Linked DNA regions of Homo sapiens: all the other regions are linked to region 1. The links are contacts of gene promoters, found by promoter capture Hi-C in human tissues and cell types (Jung and others, 2019). All regions are on one chromosome and are shown on one strand. The core of a region is centred on a gene start or on the middle of the fragment in contact, and the rest is flanking DNA. Distances in the headings are between cores, read along the strand shown. Region 1 holds the start of TCERG1L (transcription elongation regulator 1 like). Region 2 has its middle 47 kb from the start of TCERG1L. Region 3 overlaps TCERG1L (transcription elongation regulator 1 like).

The links. The method cuts DNA at HindIII sites, captures the fragments that hold promoters and counts their contacts. A contact is called where the count stands out against the background at its distance.
Region 2: a fragment that was not itself captured here is called in contact with the fragment with the promoter of TCERG1L in region 1 in 2 of the 25 tissues and cell types used here (bladder and dorsolateral prefrontal cortex).
Region 3: a fragment that was not itself captured here is called in contact with the fragment with the promoter of TCERG1L in region 1 in 2 of the 25 tissues and cell types used here (dorsolateral prefrontal cortex and thymus).

Annotation. Positions count from the first base shown.
Region 1 is chr10:131,310,077-131,313,287 of GRCh38, reverse strand. TCERG1L (transcription elongation regulator 1 like) reads left to right here and starts at 1,567. Exons shown (of 12, transcript NM_174937.4): 1 at 1,567-1,994. The coding sequence starts at 1,653. It overlaps LOC101927461 (a long non-coding RNA gene), which reads right to left and starts at 1,432. Exons shown (of 3, transcript XR_242763.6): 1 at 1,014-1,432. The HindIII fragment of the contact is 8,672 bases long and covers 1-3,211 here.
Region 2 is chr10:131,357,138-131,360,348 of GRCh38, reverse strand. No RefSeq gene overlaps it. Among named protein-coding and RNA genes, the nearest start is that of TCERG1L, 47 kb to the right of the region's middle. The HindIII fragment of the contact is 3,640 bases long and covers 1-3,211 here.
Region 3 is chr10:131,277,221-131,280,431 of GRCh38, reverse strand. The region is part of intron 3 of TCERG1L (transcription elongation regulator 1 like); the gene reads left to right. Among named protein-coding and RNA genes, the nearest start is that of TCERG1L, 33 kb to the left of the region's middle. RefSeq lists enhancers at 1-516, 517-1,160, 2,560-3,075. The HindIII fragment of the contact is 5,518 bases long and covers 1-3,211 here.

The sequences.
Region 1 (3,211 bases), core at 318-2,817:
TTCTGATTTTAGGTGAATAAAAAAAATGCCAGTACTTTTGCATCAAAGAGAGAGATAAACTTGCTAATTGAAAACTGGTTTTCGTGGAGGAAAATATGGAGGCGCCAGCTATGTAAATCAGCATATGCCCAGATCTAAAAGAAATCAGGCCAGGCCAAGAGGAAATTAAGCAAATCAGGATAATGAGGAAACAACCCTAGACGCAAATTAAAAGCACTCGGGTGCTTTAGGCCATCTCAGGAGGTTGGCAGTGGACAGGTGGGAGGTGATGCGAACACGGGTTTGGAGTACCAGGCGTGTCAGTGCCGCTGGGTGGGTGGGTGCCTGCTCTCCCACCCAGGTCAGGGAGGGTTTTTCATGCAAGTTCTTAAATGCATGGATCATAATGCTGCCTTTTGCATCCAGAAAGACCCTTCAAATGCCTCTAACAACACTGGTCTCGCGCTGGCATTAGCTGTGCTTGGGTTTCCTGGGTTTAGCGACCTAAGGGGTTTACAGCGCACGGAAGTCTCTGCCCAGCTGTCAGCGCGCGTCGCCAGGGGCTGCACTGAAGCTGTGGACCCGGGATGGGGAGGAGGCTGGCGGCCTCCGAAGCAGGGTCTACAGCGGGGGAGGGCTAGCGCCGTCTGGCGGTGGCTGCGCGTGGCCAGTGCGGACCCAGGCTCGGCTCGGCCGGCGCTGCCTGCGTGTGGTCCGGGCGGAGCGAGGGTCCTTGGAGCCCGGTTCGTCCTGGGTCCCAGGAAGCTCGGCGTGCAGCGTCAGAGGCCGCGTGTGCTGGGGGAGGGAGGAGTACAGACTGTGCCTGGGGGCATCCAGGACGAATTCACAGAGGGGTGGTCCTGCCCCACCCAGGGGGTGTCGTGGGCAAAGGCCCTGGGGCCACCTGCCTGGTGCCTTGGAGGGCGTAGGGCAGGAGCCGCCGAGGCCCGCGGGCCACTGTGGGGCGCGGAACTTCAGACCAGGCACCCGCGGCTCAACTTCCGGGCCAGGGGACCCGCGGGGGCCTTACGAACCTGTTTGGCCCATTTGTGCAACAGAAATCCGCCCGCGCCTAGCAGCGTCCGGGGCCGCCTGCGCCGGATCCGCAGCCCAGTACCCTCCGCGCCCTGGACTCCGAGGAGGCCAGGTAGAGAGCGGCTCGCGCGGTCCCCGTCTGCGCCCTCAGCCCCGCGCTGGGCAGCGGGACATGCCTGGCTCCGGCGCCGCCACCTCGGCTTCCGCTTGCCCTTGAGTGCGGAGCCCGGAGCCTCCCTCGCGGTGCGCTGGGTCCCAGAGGGCCAGAGGCCACCAGGGGGCCGGCATCGGCGGGAGCCCAGCCGGGCGCGCCCTCGGCCCTCTCCCACCCACGTCCTCCGCGGCCGCCCGGGTCCAGGGGCGCAGCGGGGAGGAGACCCCGGCCAGGGCCGGGGAGCGCGAGGGCGGGGCGGGGTCCGGCGGGGAGGGGCGCGGGCGGGCGGGGACCGGGGCGGGGGCCGGGTCCGGGGGCGGCGGCGGCGCGGGCGGGAGGAGGAGGAGCTTCCCGCGCGGGGCAGGGGCGGAGCGAGCGGCCGCGCCGCGGAGCCAAGTGAGTTCGCTCCGGAGCCGCGCCGCCGCCGGCCCAGCATCTCGGGCGCCCGCCGCCCCCGCCGCCGCCGTCAGCGCGGGGATGTAGGATGCAGGCGGGCGCCAGGTTCCAGCGGCGGCGGCGGCAGCTGCAGCAGCAGCAGCCCCGGCGGCGGCAGCCTCTCCTCTGGCCGATGGACGCAGAGCCGCCGCCGCCGCCGCCCTGGGTCTGGATGGTGCCGGGCTCGGCCGGGCTGCTCCGGCTCAGCGCGGGGGTCGTGGTTCCCCCGGTGCTGCTCGCCTCGGCCCCGCCGCCCGCGGCCCCGCTGCTCCCCGGTCTCCCCGGCTGGCCGGCCCCGAGCGAGCCGGTGCTCCCGCTGCTGCCGCTGCCCTCTGCGCCAGACTCCGCCGCCGCCGCCGCCGCGCACCCCTTCCCCGCGCTCCACGGGCAGGTAACGTGTCCCCGTCCCGCCTCGGCCCGGGTCGCCGTCTCCCCTGCTCCTGGGCGCGCCCTGCCCGGCCCGGCTCTGGCCTCCGGCTCGCGCGCCCTCCTCCCCGGCGGTCCTCGCCGCCCCAAACCCTCAGGACGGAGCCCGGCAGCCGTGCCTCGGCGAGAAAGTTCGTGCTTGGACGCCCGGTCGTCCACCTCCGCAGCTTTGGCAGGTGCCTCCGGGTGTCTGGACGGAGCCGTGGAGGGACCCGCCGCCCAGGCCCGCGTGGGGACCGCAGGGAACTCGCGCCACGCCGGGGGTCACTGTCCATCGCGAGGTGCTGAAGTGGCTCCGTGACCGCCGCGGGCCGTGGCTGACATCGCGGAGAAGTTAGGACTTTCACAGTCTCTGCCAGACTTGAAAGCAAGCTGGAAATCGATAGCTGTTTCAGCTGTTTCAGATTCTAATCTGGTTTGGGTTTTTCCCCCTTTCATTTGAAAATAGACTCAGGGCAATGCTTAAGAGAATTCCAACCGACGGAAGTGGCCGGGAAATCCTGCCTTCGGTACTGAGGGATGTTACCGGAGATTCCCCTGCCCCAGGCCTGCCGGAGTCCACCACATTCGCTAATGCCACACTGCACTTTAGAACTAGAGTTTGGCTTTTAAGACATGGGATTAAAAAGAAAAAGTGACTGAACCTTTGATAAATGGTGCAGCAGAGCTAGGCGGGCTGGTTTGGGCAAGATTCATTGTCAGCTAACTATGCAGATGCATTTAAATCAGGGAATAGCGTGCATTTTATTCCAAGGATTGACCTCATTAGCATATTCAAACGGGTGTTATGTTAGAATACACCATTTGATTAATTTAATTCCAATATTATCTTGTGAGCTTTTCTAAAAGATGTTGTTAAACTCCTGCTAAATTGGTCTTTAGACTTAATGATACATCACATATGCAGCACTGGATATTGTATTTTTATGTGTGATGCAGTTTATTTTGGATTTTATTCAAGAAACGTTGGTAGTTTTTGCCGTATTTTGGAGGGGTGTTATATCAGAGTGCTGCCACTAGAGGTATATAATGTCAAGGAACTACATTTTTTAAATTCTGCTTTAAAAAACTGCATTTTTTCACTTATATAAATTTAAAAGAAAATTTAAAAAACCTTAGCATTAATCTTTTAAATATTTTTGTGCTACCCAGCTTCTGTAAAGTAAGAATATGTACAACCAG
Region 2 (3,211 bases), core at 234-2,733, 47 kb before region 1:
AGCCTCATAAACGCCCACCTCTCCCCAGCACAAGCATCTCTAGACGGCCGCACCCCCTCATAACTCCCGGCACTGTCCGTAGTTTCATACTTTGCTTCTCTTCACAGTAATGCACCAGCATGGGCGCTGTGACGGCTACTCAACAACGCCCAGTTCTTGCCTCCTTCCCAGCAAATAAATAGTCTCCCTCCGCTGACTGCTCAGCGTCAGAAGGGCTATATGACTTCCTCAGTCCAGTGGGTTGGGGGCAGGGTTGACATGTGTCACCAGCAGGCCAAGCATTTAATTATCAGCATGAGAACTTCTAGCCAACCAGGAAGCTGAGCATCCAGACTGTGCAGACTCTAGAAGGTCCGGCCTTTGTCCCTGGCTGCTGTCTCCACCTGGAGGACACTTGTCTTGGGGAGCTCCCAGACCCATGGCAGTCCTTGTGTGAGTGAGAAATTCAGCTTAGTTTTTAAAGCCCTGAGGTTTGGGAGATTTTTGTTACTGCAGCATAACGTCACCTGTGGTGACAGAGACACCTGGCTGGAGCATTATAGATATCCTTTCCTGAGTGCTGGAGCCAAGAAGTGCCCTTTTCCTCTCATACCCCCCAAGCTGCTCCTCCATCTGCCTCCTTTGGCTTCTGCTGTTGCTTGAATGCAGCTCTGGCTGGTCACACCATCAGCCTCACATTCTGTGAACCCCCTCACTGCCTCCCTCTCTCTAGCATGGGCTCCATGAGGGCAGGTGCTGTGTCTGTCTCAATTATTGTTAGAAGCTCAGTTTATGCCCAGGAATGTTTGTGCAACAAATAAATGAATGAAAGCTTTTTTACAAAGAGAAGAAAAATCGTATGATGCAAATGACTACTCACTAATTTATTGTTTATGTACATTAACAGGATTTTATGTTGGATTTGTTTTAAATGGGATATACATATTATACAGGCACTAGAATTTAATTTTAATTAAACAGACATTTCTGCTGAAGTTGTTTTTGGTTTCCTCTTTTACTGTCTCACATTGTTCATGAATAGTTCTGCTTGATACTTTTCAGCAATGTGACAGACTGGAAGATAGCCACACTTCCAAGAGCGAGTCTGCCTATCTGCCTCAAAATGTAGTCAGCTCAGACACGAACAGACGCCTTCCTAAGTGGGGCTCTGAGGGTGGCGCGGATGGAGTTCTTATCCCAGGATATCAGTTGGCTCAGAGGGCAGGAAGAGCAGTGTGGGGAGGGGTTTCCCTCTCACCTGGTGAGTTGCACATGAAAAGGTGGCCTCATTTAGTCTTCAGTGAAAAAAAAACCTTGCTCTGGTTGTATTAACTGTTTCCTCACCACACAGTCGCCATTTTATTCACTTTCAGCCGTTATTGAAGACTCACCATGTGCCAGCATCTGAGCTATCTTGGCAGGAAAGCCATAGCCCTTGTCATCAGAAGCTTGGAGCTTCTATTTCTGGTCCTTAATACGCTTACTTAGATCATCTCCCCACAGCGGGTCCCTGTTAGAACGGATGAGCATGCACACACACACAGATACACAGTTGCACAAACACAAAATGCATGCATGTGCAGACAGACGTGCAAGTGCACACGCAGGCATCACACATCTTCGGACTCAGAGATTGGGAGTGGGCTGCCAGGTCCATGGTGCCCATGAGCCACAAGACATAGCTGGCGGCTGCTGAGCCTGAAAGCATTTTTTTTTCCCGAGACAGAGTCTTGCTCTGTCACCCAGGCTGTTATGCAGTGGTGCGATCTCAGCTCACTGCAACCTCCGCCTCCCGGGTTCAAGCACTTCTTCTGCCTCAGCCTCCTGAGTAGCTGGGATTACAGGCACCCACCACCACACCTGGCTAATTTTTGTATTTTTAGTAGACATGGGGTTTCACCTTGTTGGCCAAGCTGGTCTTGAACTCCTAACTTTGTCACCTGCCCACCTCAGCCTACCAATTTTTTTTTGTTTTTTTTTTTGAGACAGAGTTTTGCTTTTTTGACCAGTCTGGAGATGGTATGATCTCAGCTCACTGCAACCTCTACCCCCTAGGTTCAAGCAATTCTCCTGCCTCAGCCTCCTGAGTAGCTGGAATTACAGGTGCGCACCACCATGCTGGGGTAATTTTTTTGTATTTTTGGTAGAGACGGAGTTTTGCAATGTTGGCCAGGCTGGTCTCAAACTCCTGACCTCAGGTGATCCACCCGCCTCAGCCTCCCAAACTGCTGGGATTACAGGCATGAGCCACGGCACCTGGCCAGCCTGACAGCGTTTCTGCCATAGCCTTCAAGGGAGCCATGGATGACCACGGACTGTCTTTAGGCAGATGCTACAGTGCTATTGTCGTTGTGATATGTTGACAAGCTTCTGAGCTCTGATAGTGCAATCATTACTTAATGGAAGGGACGTTATCTGCTTCGGGGAGCTCTGCCAAGTGCTTCTCCCTCTCAGCTTCAAAAGACAATCTCGTCAGCGTGCGGACCACATGAACAGATAATCGCCTGCCTTCAGGAGGTGGAGCTGCTGAGACAGGCAGGCCCTGAGAGCCGGAGCAGGGAGCGACAATGTCCCGGCCTGGAGCTGCGTCCTCAGCCAGACCCAGTGGTCAGCTCCCGGCCACCAGGACTCCATTTAGCCAAGAGGCAGTTTCACCGCCTGCGGGAGCCAACTCACACGAGGCAGAGTCTCACTTCCTTAATTAAGAGAAGCGCCCCTTGTTTTCTCTGCTCGAAATTTTCCAATGTGCACACACTCCAACAACCTTATTACTAGGTATAAAATGATAATTTCTGTCATGGAGAACACAAAGAGATGAGGAAAATCCTCAAACCCGGGGCCCCCTTGTGGCACACAGGATCGCTTGCCAAATGTTTTACTGTCTTTACTTTTGGGGGAAATTCTCTTCCTTGGTCAAAACCTCCTCTTCGGACAGGCTGGAGGATGCACCTGGCATTGCTGCTTGCCCAGGCACAAGGACGACAGGCTGGGCTAACCAGGGCCTGTACTCCGAAGGGCAATATAGTTATTCATTTATTTATTTATTTATTTATTTATTTATTTATTTTTGAGACAGAGTCTTGTTCTGTCATCCAGGCTGGAGTATACTGGCACGATCTCAGCTCACTGCAACCTCTGCCTCCTGGGTTCAAGTGATTCTCCTGCCTCAGCCTGTCAAGTAGCTGGGATTACAGGCACACACCACTATGCCTGGCTAATTTTTGTAGTTTTA
Region 3 (3,211 bases), core at 250-2,749, 33 kb after region 1:
CCAGTCTTCCCAACTTGGCTTTGGGTTGTCCCTCGTTTCCAGACCAAACCAAGGTTCATCTTGCATATGTTGATTGATTACCAAGCTAAAGGGAAAAGTCAAGCTGGGAATGGCTTAGGGCCAACCTGCCTCCCATTCTATTCAAAATCACCTCTGTGCTCACTGAGTTAAGTGCATGTCTGATTGCCTCCTTTGGAGAGGCTCATCAGGAACTCAAAGAATGCAACCATTCCTCTCTTATCTACCATGACCTGGAAGCCCCCTCCTGCTTCCAGTCTTCCCACCTTGGCTTTGAATGTATAGAATGTGTAAAACCAAACTGCTCTGACCACCCTGGGCACATGTCACCAGGACCTCCTGAGGCTGTGTCGCAGCCATGCATCCTCAAGCTTGGCAAAATACATTTTCTAAATTAACTGAGACCTCTCTCTGATTTTCGGGGCTCACGAAAGGGTGTAGGCTGGCTCTGCTGGGTCGCATTCCACATGGAGAAACTCTCACCTGTCACTCCTGTGGGATTTGCTGTTGAGAGGAGGGTGTGCCCCCGAGAGAGTAGCTGGACCTTTGCAGCGAAAGGCAGAGTGAGGAGCTATGGGTGGTTTTCACAGGGTTTGCTATGGGTGTCTCAGCATCCGTGAGTGTCACCCACCAAAGCCCGGAAGCGTTTCCCATCCCTACAGATGTTTAGGGGACATTTCCCTGGCTCAGTCAAGGGTTGCTGGAGGTGTGGCCATCCTCACCGGGCGGCTGGGTGGCCTGTGCTCCTCCAGATCCTTCTCAGCTTTCTCTCTCCTTTGTTTTTCTGGATTGCAGGCCAGCATGGCCCATGGTCTTCTCTTCATCTGGGCGCCTTGGATGGTGGGACAGGAGCTTGTCTCGCCAGATGTCACTGTTTCCAGGGTTCTGTCACTTGGCTCTTGATGAGGCTAGATTTTTTTGGCCCCTGCTGGGGCTTTAAGTCCTAGAGACTCCGGGCATGATGTGAAGCCTGGAATGGGCTCACTGGAAAAGACCCATCCACTGTCCTAAACAGTCATGAAGGTTAGCAGCATTGCTTACTGTCAATTGCAGGCAACGCATGGCACTGAGCGTCTTACACTCCTGCCCACCTGCCTGCCCAGGCCTTTTCCCTCTCCTCCCTCCCTCCTTCCTCCCCCTCTCACCTTTCCTCTGTCCCTTCGTAAAGTCAACCCATGTTTAGAGCGGCTTGGAATTGAAAGGAAAATGACTGATGAGTTGTGTGCCAGGCACTGTATCGGGGCCTTCCCTGTGGTCATCTCATCTAATCTAGGGCTCCCATGAACTAGGTAGCCCTGTCTCTGCCTGAGGGGCACACGCAGCTGTGAGGCTGGACTAGGCTCAGGAAGGAAAGAGCTGAACCCCATCAGGCAAGGTTTCCGGGCTTCTGGAGCTTTGGGGGCCTGTGAGGGAGACGGACTTTCTCAAACAGATGTGATTGGCACACACAGTGGCAGCAGAAGGGCCCGGAGGGAGGTGTGGGGTTGAAGGCCATGCAGGAGGATTGTGGGGGTCCAGCAGTCATCAGGGAGGACTTTCAGGGGACCCGAGGCCCCATGAGCCCAGGAGAGCTCCCATGGGAGGGAGGAGCACTTCCTCCTTGCAAAGCCCCAGCATGGGAGAGAGCAGGGGCCTTCAAGGGCCTGATGGTGACTCCTGGGCAGGCGAGGACACCAACAGCAAAGGGCACCCCCCAGGCCAGCCTTGGCAGGAAGTGACTCCGCGGCAGGGAAGAGACATGATCGTTCTCATGTCTTGAAAAGACGATGTGGGCTGGGTGCGGTGGCTCATGCCTGTAATCCCAGCACTTTGGGAGGCCGAGGCGGGTGGATCACCTGAGGTCAGGGGTTCGAGACCAAGCTGCCCAACATGGTGAAACCCTGTCTCTACTAACAATACAAAAAAAAAATTAGCTGGGCATCGTGGTGGGCACCTGTAATTCCAGCTACTTGGGAGGCGGAGGCAGGAGAATTGCTTGAACCCGGGAGGCAGAGGTTGCAGTGAGCTGAGATCAGGCCATTGCACTCTAGCCTGGGTGACGGAGCAAGACTCTGTCTCAAAAAAAAAAAAAAAAAGAAAAAAGAAAAGACGATGTAGCTCAAGGGGAGAGGACAGGAGGGGGGGCCTCGTCTCATCTTCACCAGTGAACTCTAGAAGCATCGCTGCCCCATTTTACAGGTGAGGAAACCGAGCAGGATCCAGGAGAGGATGCGACTCGGCCGGGGTCACGTGGCTCTGCCTGGGGTTTCAGAGTCAGGTGAAGGAGCCCCACCGGTGCTCAGATCAATCTGAGTTCTCCTGTTCCTGAGGCCAGTGGGCCCGGGGGGAGGCAGGAGCCGGGAGCCCCTGCCTCCCTCCGCTTCCATCTCCCACAGCCTGCTGGGTTTCCTCAGACTTTCCTCCCTCCAGAGCCCTGTTTTGGGGAGTGGCTGAAGCTCCCCACATGCGGAATGAAATCCAGAGCTCAGGATGGCCCCTGAGCCCCCTGCTCTGGTCACCTGGCCTTTTTCCCTCCCAAGTCGGTGGCTCTCCCGGCTCAGGAGGCACCTGCCACTGGCTCCTTTCCATTCTCCAGGCCTCTGCCTGGGGCCTGGGCAGTCACTGTGCCCTCCTCCGGGCACCTTTTGACCAGATGTCCTCAGGGCTCATCCCTGCTTCCTTGAGATCTGCGCTGAGACCTGACCTCAGAGGCCCATGCCTGCCTCTGTGTTTATCCTTCTGCCATGGGCACTGTCCTCTCCAACACTGACTTTGCACCCTCAAGCTTTCTGTTAGCTTGTCCCTGGTCTGCTCCCCAGACGAGAACCTGAGCCAGATGGGCAGGGCCGTCTGCTGGACAGTGCCTGCGTCTGGGAGGGTTCCAAAAACGTCATTAAGCAGCCAAGTTTGTGGACATGACTGTGGGCATCAGTGTGCTCGCCAGGAGGTGGGGAGCGGCCCTCTCTTGTGGCTCATGTCTAGGCCAGGCCACTATCTCCCCGGCGCAGGCCTGCGGGAGATTTCCTGGCTGTCCATCTGGGCAGCTGCAGTGACCGCTCCGGTTGTTAGAGCTTTGGGGTGGGCGTGCACTGTCAGGAATCTTCAGTGTCCAGGGGCTGGGTTCACATAATGAACTCACATCTCCTTTGTAAGTTCCAGAACCTCGCCAATCCACCTTCCAGCTTTAAGCCCTCTGTGACCTCCATGGTCACCA